Linked DNA regions of Homo sapiens: regions 1 and 3 are each linked to region 2. Evidence: promoter capture Hi-C in 16 types of primary human blood cells and fetal thymus (Javierre and others, 2016). All regions are on one chromosome and are shown on one strand. Each heading gives the region's core, a stretch centred on a gene start or on the middle of the fragment in contact. The rest is flanking DNA. Distances are from core to core; before and after follow the strand shown.

Region 1 (4,344 bases), core at 1,735-4,234, about 36 Mb before region 2:
TTTCATCTTTACTACCCTACACACATTTGCCCTTTTTTTCTTTCCTAGAATATTTTAAGGCAAATTCCGCATGTGCTTTTACATCTCTGTGTCTCTCTCTAGTAAGAATGTTCTTTTCAGCAAAATCACAGAATTAGCCATTACTCCTTTATTACCTAATACCCAGACTGTTTAATTTTTCTAGTTGCTTCAAGTGTCTGTTTACAATTTATTTGTTTGAATTCATTTCTAAGCTAAGACCTAGGTTTCTCTTAATCTGTTGCTGTTCTCCCTCTTTTGTTGTTGTTCTTTTTTTTTGAGACAGAGTCTTGCACTGTTGCCCAGTCTGGAGTGCAATGGCATGACCTTGGCTTACTGCAGCCTCCACCTCCCGGGTTCAAGAGATTCTCCTGCCCCAGCCTCCTGAGTAGCTGGGATACCAGGCGCGTACCACCATGCCTGGCTAATTTTCTTCTATTTTTAGTAGAGTTGGGGTTTCACCATGTTGGCCAGGCTGGTCTCGAACTCCTGACCTTAAGTGATCTGCCCACCTTGGCCTCCCACAGTGCTGGGATTACAGGCGTGAGCCACCGCACCCAGCCCCTCCTTTGTTTTTAAGTGTCATTTTATTTGCTAAAGAAATATGCAGTATCCTTTGTGCTATACAGTTTCCCACGTTTTGGATCTTGCTGGTCATGAACTTGTAATGTCATTGAGCTTGTTCCATTATCTGCTGTTTATTCTATAAACTGGGAGTTAGTTCTAGAGACATGGGTAGATTTGGTTCTGTCTTTTTATTGAGAGTATTTCATAGGTAGGTGGTGGTGTGTACTTTCTGTTGCTTTACATTGAGAGACATGTAGTGTCTGATTTTTCCACTTTTACTGATGTTAAGATTAATTAGCGAGGTCAGGTGGTATCACCCTGATCTCACCATTCTAAAGTTCCTCATTAATCTTTTGCCTAGGGGTTTTGGCAACCATTTATGTTTGTTGCCTGGATCTTTTAATTATTAGGGGTTGCAAAATGGTGACTTTCTAATTCTACCATTCCTCCTGCATTTGTTACCTGGGATTCTTTTATAAAGAATTTTCTCTCATCAAGTCTTTGATTACCCTGAAATATAGTCTCATCCAGAGAAAGCTAGATAAATTCTTATTTCCTTTGCACTGTTGTGAAATGAAAATTTGGTGCCCAAGCAATCTCTGAAAGAGACTAATGAGTATGTTTTTGTTTGTTTGTATTTGTTTTGTTTTGCTTTGTATTTGAGCATTGTAAGGATATAGTAAAAACCAAACCAAGGTGTGTTTTTCTTTCTCTTTCTCACTGAGTTAACACTTCTGACACCAGATATGTTGTGGGTATTTCCCCACATACCAAGTAAGCAATCAGTTCTGCAGAGGATTCTCCATCAGAGACCAGCAGGATGTCTGCTGATTTAATTCAATTCTGACACTACCTGGAGATAGCATTAGATCTCACAAGTTTAGGGCTCAGTCTCACAAGACCAGTCCCCGCTACTTGAGATGCCAATCATAAGCCCCGGGTTGTCTGTGCTTCTGACAGACTGGCTATAAATCAGGGTTCCCACAACCCCCTTCTTGGGTTCAATTAATTTGCTAGCACTTAGGACTCTGGGAAGCATGATAAATGGGTAAATGTAAATATAAATTTACATTTATTATAAAGGATATTACAAAGGATAGAGACGAAAAGCCAGATGGAAGAGAGGTGTAGGGCAAGGTATGGGAGAAGGACTGCAGAGCTTCCATGCCCACTCTGATCTGATCACGCCACCCACCTTCCAGGAATCTCCATGTGCTCAGCTTTCCAGAAACTCCCAGAACTCAGCTATTTTGGGTTTTTATGGAAGCTTTGTTATGCAGGCATAATTGATTAAATCATTGCGCGTTGATTTATTGGCTCAACTTTTAGCTCCTCTGCCCTTCTGAGGTTGGGGGATGGGACTGTAAATTCTAACCCTCTAATCTAATCTAATGGTTGGTTTCCCTGGCAACCAAGTCCTATCCCAAGGCTCTCTAGGAACCTCCAGCCACCAATTTTCTCATTATCATACAGAAGACATTCTTATCACTCAAGAGATTTCAGGGATTTTAAGAGCTATGTTTCTGGAAACGGATGAAGATCAAATATTTTTTTCACAATATCACAAGCATCATTATGAATTCATGGATTCTTACATACATGTCAGCCCTCTGTATCCATGGATTCAACCAAATATTTGAAAATATTTGGAAAAAATGGGTGGTTGCAACTGTACTGAACATGTCCACACTTTTTGTTCTTGTCATTATTCCCTGAACAATGTAGCGTAACTATTTACATAGCATTTCCATTATATTAGGTATTAGAAGTAGTCTAGGGATGATGTAAAACAGGAGGATTGCGTAGGTTATATGCAAGTACTACGTCATTTTATCTAAACAACTTGAGCACTCATGGATTTTGGTACCACCAGGCCAGGTCCTGGACCCAGTCCTCCAGTGATACTGAGGGACAGTCATGTGTCACTTAACAATGGGGATGCATTCTGAGAAATGCATCACTAGTTAATTTTATCGTTGTGCAAATATAGAGTGTACTTACACGAACCTAGCTAGTGTAGCCTATACCTCGGCTATATGTTATAGCCTATTGCTACTAGGCTACAAACTTCTACAGCTTGTTATTGTATTGAATACCGTACTCAGCTGTAACACAGTGGTAATTATGTGTATATCTAAACCTATCTAAACATAGAAAAAGCACATAAAAATATGGTATAAAAGATTTTTAAATGGTACGCTTGTCTAGGGCACTTCCCATGAATGGAACTTGCAGGACTGGAAGTTGCTGTGGGTGAGTCTGTGAGTGAGTGGTTAGTGCTGAGTGAATGTGAAGGCCTGGGACATTGCTGTACACCACTGTAAACTTTTATAAACAAGTACACTTAGGCTGCACTAAATTTATTTTCAAAATTTTTTTTCAATAGTAAATTAACCTTCGTTTATGGTAACTTTTTTAGTTTATAAACTTTTATGTTTTAGCTTTTCAACTATTTTGTAGTAACACTTAGCTTAAAATACAAACACATTGTAGAGCTATACAAAAATATTTTCTTTATATATTATCCTTATTCTATAAGCTGTTTTCTATTTTTAAATTTTTTTTTAACTTTTTAAACGTTTTTGTTAAAAACTAAGACAAACATACACATTAGCCTACGCCTACACAGGGTCAGGATCATCAATATCACTGTCTTCCACCTCCACATCTTGTCCCATTGGAAGGTCTTCAGGGCCATTAACAGGCATGGAACTGTCATCTCCTATGATAACGATGCCTGTACTTCCTGAAGGACACACCTAATGCTGTTTTACAGTTAACTTTTTTTTTTAATAAGTAGGAGTACATGCTAAAGTAAGGATGAAAAGTATAGTAAATATGTAGACCAGTAACATAGTTGTTTGTTATCACTATCAAGTGTTATGTACCGTACGTAATTGTATTACTATACTTTTATACAACTGGAAGTGCAGTAGGTTTATTCACACTAGTTTCACTACAAAAACATGAGTAATGGATTGTGCTACAGTGTTGTAATGACTAGGACATCACTAGGTGATAGGAATTTGTCAGCGATATAATCTTATGGGACCACCATGGTATACACAGTCTGTCATTGGCCAAGAAGTTATGATGTGTCACATGATCATATTTTTGTTCATTGCAATCATTCTTTTTTGTTGATTGCTCAGAATTTTCCTTTTTTGGCCATTGGTAATCATTCCTTTGTCTTTTTGACTAGATCCTGGTGATCTTTCGTAACTTTTTTTTTCCAGGCAGAACAAGGATGTCCTAAACTTATTTTGTACATTTCTTGACCCAGAAATGAAAGTCAGCTATTTCTCCAAGGAACCCAGATTGCTTTTGGTGGGTTAGATAATATAAGCACCAGTGATCTGCATTGCTAAATTTTCATTACTTATAGGCCTTTTTGGTGCATTGGGTTAGGAAATGTATCTTTCATACCGATAACTTCTAGTTCAAATTAAATATTACAGGCAAGATAACAAAAATCAGATTGACAAATTGAACTTACAAGAATCAGAGATCCTAACCTAGTATCAAGCTTGGCAAATATTTTCAAAGATAAAATTATCATAAGACGTGAGCGGGGTGTAGAGAAGTCTGTGACTGCCAGAGCTGCTCTCGGGTCGTTTCTTTCCTCAATTAGACTGTGCTCCAGCCCAGAGTTCAACACTCAAGGCCTCTAAGTAATGCCTGTAGAGTGTCAATTCCACGAAAGAAAGCTGTTTCCGACATGAGACATCACTGGTTTCTTCTTTGATAATTACATAGTGT
Region 2 (4,707 bases), core at 104-2,603:
AGCCCTGCCGGAGACTCATGCGCATTATTAAGGCGTTACTCTAAATATGGTCCCCGGTGCGGTTCCGGTGTTTTGTTTTAACAAACTCTAAATTTAAGTTCCGTTTCCAATGATTAGATGGCTGGGCGTCATTGCTAACGTGATAAATCACTTAAAATGTTATAATAGAGATTTATTGTAAAATATTACATACCCGGGGACAATGGAATAGCCACCAGTTTGGGAACTTAATGTTATTGAGCGTCTAACGTGCCTCATTCCTTGTACTTTTAAATCAGAATATAAAGTGAAAAGCAAAAATGTGTAGATGGAATAATTTGTCTTATATCTCTATCTGGGCTGAGAAAACAAAATGCCAAGTCTCTTTTTCACCGCGCTGGGAGTGGCAACCCATTATTTTAATATTTTCATTGTTTAAAGGGAAGTGAACGTGGTCTGGTCCAGCTATTCGTCAGAATTTTTTTTTTTAATGCTCCTTGCAAAGCAGAGCTAACTCATAGGCAACATGCCCAGAGTCAGCCTACATTTTTTTAAGTAAGGAGTCCTGATGTTCAACTATTAAATCTTTATTATAGGTAAGAGCATTATAATAAACGTCGGTGTGCAATTATTCCACTCTAACGAAGATTTCTGTCTCAAATAATTCCTGACTTCTCTCTAAACCTGACTTTGAGTAACCTCTGTAAATTTGTTTCCTCGTGTACTGAGAAAAAAATATACATCACAGAGTTACGAGCATTAATAATGTCATTCTCATCAGCAAGTGGCATCCTGAGTGCGGCTTCTTTATAAATTGTTTTATTTGTTAAAGTTTCTGAACTTCGTTTTGGACAAACTTTCTCGTATTTGTATGGGGGGAAGGGGATGGGCAGTTTGTATTTAAGTTTCGGTTGTGTGATCTTTAAAAGGGAAATGGTGGGATATGGGTTTTCGGATCGACAAGGACTGAAGCACTTCAGGTGTGACTTTTTAGGCTAGAACTAGATAAAACGAGATAAGGAGCCTGAATGCTGTTTTCTTTTAACAGGTTATAGACTGGACTTTAAAGGCATAGCTGCCTTAAATGTGGGTAATGGTTGATAAATGTCGCTACCATCAGAGGTCGCTTCACAAGGTGTCTAATTCAGAATCGAAGATCTCTAGCGGTCTTCTACTCAGTCGACTGCAGAGACGACCGCGGTAGGTTTTTCAACCCGGACTCAACAAAGAAGCCCTCATAGCACAGCCTTGACGTCACTCAAAGACAGGCCCCAATCCCGACTGCTAGAGCAGAGGCCCGCCCCTCGACCTCCGTGAGTGGCCCCGCCCCGCCCTAGGGGGCGGGGCGATGCCGAACTGCGGCGGGCTGGCTCAGTAAAGCGGAGGCAGCGGGGGAAGATGGCGGCGGCCGTTCCACAGCGGGCGTGGACCGTGGAGCAGCTGCGCAGTGAGCAGCTGCCCAAGAAGGACATTATCAAGTTTCTGCAGGAACACGGTTCAGATTCGGTACCAGAGGCGTAGGGGCGGCCGGGCTGGTGCGGCTGAGGGACGCCTCACCCCCCTGGAGATGCCCATACATTCCGTATTCCTCTGTGCCCCCGCCCTCGTCTTCCCGCGGCCGGTGGCCTGGAAGGCCGGAGAGGCCCAGCTTGTGCTTTGGTGCCTCGCTCCCGCCTCTCGGGCGTTCTCTACTGGGGCAGGGGAGCAGCTTTATTTCTTGGGGCACACAGGCTGCAATTGTAGAGTTAGAACCTCATTGGGATCCTTGAGTGGGGGTGGAGGCCAGAAAAATAGGAACCCGAGGATATTGGGGGCTAGGGCGGAGAGGCCGAGGAATAGTGGTGTGGATGAGACTCCTGGGAGCGGGGCGCCGGCTACTAGGGAAATGGGAAGGGATGTGAAGATTTCTGTGGGAACGGTGTATCCAACTTGCTTTTCTCAACAGTTTACTAAATACTGAACATTAATGCGTGTGATTTTTAAAAAATCCGTAGGTTGTGGTTTAAGTTTTGATTTAACATATCGACCCTTTAAATGACCTTTTCACCTTTATACTTTAAGGGAGCTACATGCACATTTCTCTTGTGCAGTGGTCTGTCATTGTTATAAACAGACTAAGAAATTTATTTGAAATGCTTTATACTGTAGGCTCTCCATTTGTCAGCATAGTCTCCATCTTAACCATCCGTCTATAGTCAAGTTATTTTTGTTACACTTGTTTTTCCTTTGGAAAATAAGTTCATTCATGCACCTGTTAAATTGCTGAAATAGTTGTGCACGCAGCATTCTCTTACAAGCGGCAGCCTGCTTGTGTTTTCTATACAATTTTTAAAATTCTAAACTTTTCATTTAGAAAAACTGTTTCTGGGTTTTTTTGTTTGTTTGTTTGAGACGGAGTCTCTCTCTGTTGCCCAGGCTGGAGTGCAGTGGCGCGATCTCGGCTCACTGCAACCTCCGCCTCCCGGGTTCAAACGATTCTCCTGCCTCTGCCTCTCGAGTAGCTAGGACTACAGGCGCGTGCCACCACGCCAGGTTAATTTTTTGTATTTTTAATAGAGACGGGATTTCACCGTGTTAGTCAGGATGGTCTCGATCTCCTGACCTCGTGATCCGCCCGCCTCGGCCTCCCAAAGTGCTGGGATTACAGGCGTGAGCCACTATTTCTGGGTTATTTTGAGAAGCTTATATTTTATTTTCATTTTGGGCGGGCGTCATGACAGGGAGATAGAAGAACTCTCCAACTTCCAGTGCCTTCTTCCTTAATTATTATCCTGGCATCCGCATCTTAGATTAATTTAGCAGATATTAATACAACATCTGTAACAAGAACTATTCTCAGTGTTTGGAGGTACAAGGGTGAAAAAGAACATGTGTCGGGGATCTTACCCCATTTTAATGGAACTATTTTCTCTTAAGCCAATTCGTATTTCATCTGAAACAATAGAATAGACATCATTAACATTTAATAATACCTCAGTCATGTACTTCATCCATCATATTCTTATGAAACAAATCATGCCATGTGGAATCGTATGTAAAACTGGGCCACGTGGAAGAATTTCAACAGACTTGGATTATCAAAATGTTTTTATAACATTAATCTTTTAAATGCATAGTCTCGGTCGGTCGTGGTGGCTCATTCCTGTAATCCTAGCACTTTCGGAGGCCAAAGCGGGCGGATCACGAGGTCAGGAGATCGAGACCATCCTGACTAACAGTTGAGGCCAGGCATTGAGGACCAGCCTGGCCAACGTAGCGAAACCTCATTTCTACTAAAAATACAAAAAAAATTAGCTGGGCCTGGTGGTGGGCGCCTCTAATCCCAGCTGTTCGGGAGGCTGAGGCAGGAGAATCGTTTCAACCCAAGAGGGGGAGGTTGCAGTGGGCCGAGATTGGGCCACTGCACTCCAGCCTGGGCGACAGAGCTAGACTCTGTCTCAAAAATTAATAATAATAATCTCCGGTGATCATTAACACTTAGACCTATACTTGACAATAATTATTTTATTAATCATAAGATATCAAAGAGATGTTTATGCTTTTATGCTTTGGGTATTTTCTGGAATCTTTAACAAGAAACCACCAGCATGCTAAAGGTAACTGATTACTTCCGTTTAGTCAACTTTGTCTCCTTTCCCCATCAGCTGTTATTTAGAACATATCTTTGAAAGAAAAAGCAAAAGAAAAAAATACAATAGTGATAGTGTTAGCTGTTAACTGCTAATAATGTTAACTGCTTTATCAAAAGCTTAGAAGATGCCAAAGGACAACTTTGAGAATGTAACAAAATTAGGAATTAAGCAAGGACCACAAGGCAGAAAAAGAAGCAGAATAAAATAAGGAAACAAAGAAGTTATGGAAATCCTCACAATTACGTGATTTTCAGATAAAGTTATACTACGACTTGCTATTTCAGCAGTAGTATTTTAGTGTCCATCTGCCATCTTAGCAGTCTTATATTTGAAAGAAAAGCAATTCCGCTGTTACCTTGAGTTATTAAATACAGTATTAATCATAATCCCAATATTTATTAAGTTCTTACTGTGTGACAGGCTCTATGCTAAATGCATTAAATGGATTTTTGCATTTTATCCTTATATCAACTCTTTGACGTAGACGCTGTTATTAATCTTCCACTACAGATATGGAGGCTGAGTCTTTAGACAAGCTTAGTCCCCTGTCTAGTGTCAGACAGCTAGGATTTTTTTTTTTTTTTTTTTTTTTTTGAGACAGAGTCTTGCTCTGTCACCTAGGCTGGAATGCAGTGGTGCGATCTCGGCTCACTGCAACCTCCACCTCCCAGGTTCACGCCATTCTCCTGCTTCAGCCTCCCGAGCTGGGACTACAGGCATGCGCCACCATGGCCAGCTAAATTTTGTATTTTTAGTAGAGATGGGGTTTTGTCACGTTGGCCAGGCTGGTCTCAAACTCCTGACCTCAGGTGATCCGCCTGCCTCAGCCTCCCAAAATGCTGAGATTACAGGCATGAGCCACCGCGCCCGGCCCACACAGCTAGGATTTTAACCTAGATAATATGACTCCACAGCCCATATACTTAGCAATTATATATATAATGTTAAGCATAGCAATCTCAACATATGTATGTTACATGCTTGTGTAACAGTGACTCTTCCTAGTCGGCTAAGAATGGGTTACAAATGCCTCAGGATAGCTATGTCCAACCTGGCTGGAGGCTCTCAAGGGCTGCACCCAAGTATCCTCCTGCAG
Region 3 (4,638 bases), core at 1,490-3,989, about 36 Mb before region 2:
TCAAATCCTGACTTTACCACTTACAAGCTGTGCAACATTGAGCAAATTACTTCATTTTATTTTTGTGCCTCAAGGTCCTCATCTATAAAATGAGCATAATAACATCACCTACTTAATTGGATTTGGTGAGGATTCACTGGGTGAGTTCATGCAAAGCGCTGAGAACAGGACCCCCCGCCCCCGTAAGTAAACACAATATAATTGTTAGCTTTACATGTTTTACTTCTCTCATATGCTTTTCTTCAACAAAGAGTTCTACCGCCCCCAAAAGATTTAAAAATCATTTTTCTACTGTTGCAGATGGTAGTAGCCATTGTTCAAAGGAGACTACCATTTTGTTTTACCCACACTTTTTATCAGGTTTCTCTTTTCGATCTCAGAATAACTTTATTCTTCAGGACATACTACCTCCCTCTCCATTATTCTCAAGGGCAGATCCTCCTTGCCACTGTCTTTATGTCTTTTTCTTGTGATTCAGTGCCTTCCCTCAGACTATTCTCATCAGCATCATGTCATCACCTAGAAAGCACCTAGTTGAACATTCTCTTTTACCCAGAAGGAAATTTGGCTCCTTCCAAATCAGTCATCTTACACAATTTCATGGTTAGTAAAGAAGGGCTAAAGAGAATGCTGGTTTCCTGACTCCTGTTCCATTGCTCATTCTCCATTACCCTTTCTTTCTCAACTTTTGGTGGAATTTTAAACAGGATGTCTACGAGTTCCTTTTCACTGTCAGAGCCACATCTCTCTTCAATGACTTGAATTTCTGCCACTGTTAAAGAAGTCTCTGAAGAAGTGATGTCTTTGGATTTCTTTCTCCCCAACATAGAGTGGACATTCAGAGACCTGGCATATTCATTTGTTTATTTATTCACTTAAGTTTTTTTTTTTTTGTTTTTTCTGAGTGTCTAAGTAGTTCCAGGGTTTCAGGAATTCGGGGTTGAATGGCAGTTCCCTATGTTAGAGAAGCTTGTGTCCTGCTTGAGTGGGCATGCAAATAAATAACAAGTTACAAGAAAGTAGACAATGTCTAAGGGCTAGGGTTAGGTTCATGCAGAGAACGCTGTTGGGAAGGGGGGTATAGCTTACCCAGCCTGAAGGTCATGGGTCAGGAGAAGCTTCCTGCAGGGTTGATCCAGGATCTGGATCTGGGAGTAGGCATTAGCTGGGTGAAGAAATGGGTGAAATGTGCTTCAGGCAGAGGGGCCAGAAAGTGGGAAGAAAGGCAAGGGCAGCTGTAACAGCAGGGACCTTTGGGGAAGTGCCAGAAGTTCTCAGCAGGAGGGGGAAGTTAGAGAAATGAGGAGCAATGAGGTTGGAAAGACTTGACTAGGTCTTGAAAGATCTGGTAGGCTGCACAAAAGAATTTTATTCTAGAGGTGACAAGCAACCTATGTAGAGGTGTAATCAAGAGGCCATTACACCTTTTACACATCTTATTCTGTGGTGGCAGCATGGAGAATGACTACCACACTGTTTGGAGGTTATTGAACTAATTAATTCAGGTGTGCTAAGACACTAGGATATCTCTGAGCACAGAAATATATCTCTGTGCTCAAATATTCATCTACTGTTAAATAGTCTTCATGAGCTAAATTCTTGAGAAAATCTAGAGGTGCAACTTTCCCATTTCTTTTCATCTATCAACATTTTCTTTAATAACCTGCATTTTTTTTTATCTTAACTGGATTTAACCAGCCTAGGTTGTTTTACTGTCCTTTCTTTCTGTTCTCTTTTTAACTAATCAAGACAGACTTTATTCCCTTGGTTTTGTCTACAATTTCAATGATCACTGATTTAAATTGCTGTTAAGAAACAGGTTGTGTGTGTATAATCTTATTTAACATCAGGTTTCTAATCTGGTAACATTTAACATGCAGATAAATGTACTATACTTTTATGAAATTTCATTTCTTTATACCTCTATCACAAAGCAGGGTTCTGGACGTACTATTTCACTGGCAGTTCACATTTGAGTAAGTAACTTACAGATACTGTATAGACAGTTCATTTTAAAAAGGGCCCCTGCTTAAACCTTTGTCAACAATTTGATGAATCAGCAGAACTGCTAAGATAACCTCCCATCTAGAGAAACAAAAAGGAGAAATACATATTTTTGCAATTTTTTATTACCCAAGGTAAGATCAAAAAGGTCAGTTCCTGAGATGCCATTATCCTTATTAATTCAAATAAAACAGATTCAACCAGGGTTAGGCAAAGTGCTGAATAGCAGCTTGTTGGAAAGAACAGCTCTCACGGTCATTGTACACCAAAGTTTTGTAACATTTTCCTGTGTTGGGAATGAGGATGTCAACAATGATACCTTCCCAAGTGTGGGCGATTAAGTTTTTAGCACACACACACATCTACACACACAGACATTCACTCACACATACACACACTCACACACTACTTCGGGCTGTTATTGAGCTGCTTTTGTGCACTTCGGGCCACCTCTGCAGATGCCCTTGATCTCTGGGTCCTACCCTGATCTCTCCCGGGTACTCACAGAGTCTGCGTACTGGGCGGTAAGCTGGGGATGCGTTGAATATCCTTGCAGGTGACTCTGAAGTCCTCCTCCTGATGGCACTCGCAGGGTGGAGACGAACACCCCATTCCGCCCAGGTCCCTGGGCAGGTCGAGCAGCAGCACCAGCTGCAGCAAGTCCGCCGGCCTCATTTTCCACGGGACTCGGGGCTATTTCTCCATCCTCCGAAATCGCCTCATTCTCAGCTCTGCACCTCGGGTTACCCCAGGCCAAAGGAGACCCGGGAGCGGGAGGGGTGGGAAGAGGGAGGGCTCCAAGGGGCTGTGACCTCACCACTGTGGAGGAGGCTGGAGAAGGGGAAAAAGAGGCACTTAAGTGCTCCGCTTCCCTAGGCAACCTTGACCCAAACAAGTCTGCTTGCTTCACTTTCCTTGGCTGGACCCACGCAGTCCGCTCCGTCTGTTCCCTGACACCCAACACCAGTCCTGGCTGTCCCCTCTGTTTTCCAGCCCGCCCCCCCACCCCGGGCGCCCCTCCCATTAGTTCTCTCCAAAGCCTAGTTTAGATGCCCCCTCCTTTCCTCCTCTTTAAATCCAAGGAGCCACCTTCCCTAGCGTGTAGCCTTCTAGACACCCTGTCTGCCTGGGAGCCACTCGCACGCACTCCTTATCCAGAGAAAGTCCCCGCGGAGTGGACTGTCCGCGGGCGGACCAATGTCCTGCAGAACTTCAGCTCCTCCTGGCCAGAGACACCTCTGCTGAGGGTCAGAGGCGGGCACGCAGCCCTGGCTAGCCCGCGGTGCGGCCGAAGCCGTCGCCCTGCACCCCTGGAGGATTCTCGTTGCTATCCAACTGCAGGGGCCACTCCGGTGGTTGAGTCGACTGGCAGCGGCCGCCTCACGTTGCAGCCCGCGGCTCCGCGAGGCAATTCAGGAACTGAACTTTGGGGCCATCTGCTGGGAAGAATCGGGAATGGCAGAAATAATTCCAGGTTCCCTTAATAATGGGTCCAGTATGGAAATTCTGGTCGACCCAAGAATTTCATTGAGTCATATTCCCCCTGGAAGATGGGAAGAAAAATAATACTTAAGTGGCATACTCACCATTCTTCGCACAGTAGCCAAAAAGATCATTACAAACATAAATCAGATTGTGCCTATTTCCTTCTTAAAAGTCTTCAATCACTTATTCCTCTTGGGATAAAAGGAATGTCAATTCCTTCTATACTGCATAATTCCTTTTATATGAACTTGGCTAGGACAGGAAGGAAAAAGTTGTGGTTATGGGAATCAGAATAAAGGTTAGGAAAGATTGACTAGAAAAAGACAGGAGGGAACACACAGGGTTTCCATATCGTAATTAGGCTGGAGGTTAAGTGGATGTATACATTTATCAAAATTCATTAAACCGTACATTTAAAATATGTGTATTCCAAATTTTACAGAAGCTTTATTCATAACCACTAAACGAACCAAGTGTCTCGCGACTAGATAATGGATAAACAAACTCTGATACCTCCACATTGGAATACTATTCTGCAATAAAAATGAATGAACTGCTGATACAACATGCACAAATTTTCTTTTCTTTTTTTTTTTCTTTTGAAACGGAGTCTTGCTCCGTCGCCCAGGCTGGAGTGCAATGGCGCGATCTCGGCTCACTGCAACCTTTGCCTCCGAGGTTCAAGCAATTCTGCTGCCTCAGCCTCCCGAGTAGCTGGGACTACAGGCGCCCGCCACCACGCCCGGCTAATTTTTTCGTAATTTTAGTAGAGACGGGGTTTCACTGTGTTAGTCAGGCTGGTCTCGATCTCCTGACCTCGTGATCCGCCCGCCTCGGCCTCCCAAAGTGCTGGGATTACAGGCTTGAGCCACCGCACCCGGGCTTTTGTTGTTGTTTTTTTAAAAATTACCATGGTATTGTTATGGAACAAATCTTGAATGCATAATGTTAAGTGAAAAAAGCCAAACTCAAAATATTACGTATTTATATGTAATTATTCATATTAATGATTCATTTATATAGCTTTCTCAAAAAGGCAAAACCATAGGGACAGGAAAAAGATCAGCGGTTGCAAAGGCCTAGGGTAGGGCTGACTACAAATGAACACCAGAGAATTTTGTGGGTAATAAAACTGTTTTAAATCTTGTT

What was found. Contacts are between HindIII fragments. The CHiCAGO score rates a contact against its expected background, and 5 or more counts as called.
Region 1: a fragment that was not itself captured here is called in contact with the fragment with the promoter of FKBP3 in region 2 in 1 of 17 cell types (non-activated CD4 T cells); the score reaches 5.3 in non-activated CD4 T cells.
Region 3: a contact is called between the fragment with the promoter of TSHR here and the fragment with the promoter of FKBP3 in region 2, in 2 of 17 cell types (total B cells and non-activated CD4 T cells). The highest score is 5.7, in total B cells.

What each region holds. Positions count from the first base shown.
Region 1 is chr14:81,520,827-81,525,170 of GRCh38, reverse strand. All of the region lies in intron 3 of SEL1L (SEL1L adaptor subunit of SYVN1 ubiquitin ligase), which reads left to right. Among named protein-coding and RNA genes, the nearest start is that of SEL1L, 11 kb to the left of the region's middle. The HindIII fragment of the contact is 2,259 bases long and covers 1,855-4,113 here.
Region 2 is chr14:45,131,127-45,135,833 of GRCh38, reverse strand. It overlaps FKBP3 (FKBP prolyl isomerase 3), which reads left to right and starts at 1,353. Exons shown (of 7, transcript NM_002013.4): 1 at 1,353-1,485. The coding sequence starts at 1,378. RefSeq lists enhancers at 413-1,283, 1,377-1,596, 1,284-2,155 and a silencer at 1,230-1,407. The HindIII fragment of the contact is 3,907 bases long and covers 1-2,662 here.
Region 3 is chr14:80,953,722-80,958,359 of GRCh38, reverse strand. It overlaps TSHR (thyroid stimulating hormone receptor), which reads right to left and starts at 2,739. Exons shown (of 10, transcript NM_000369.5): 1 at 2,510-2,739. The coding sequence starts at 2,679. It also overlaps a transcript of CEP128 not described here. The HindIII fragment of the contact is 2,816 bases long and covers 1,121-3,936 here.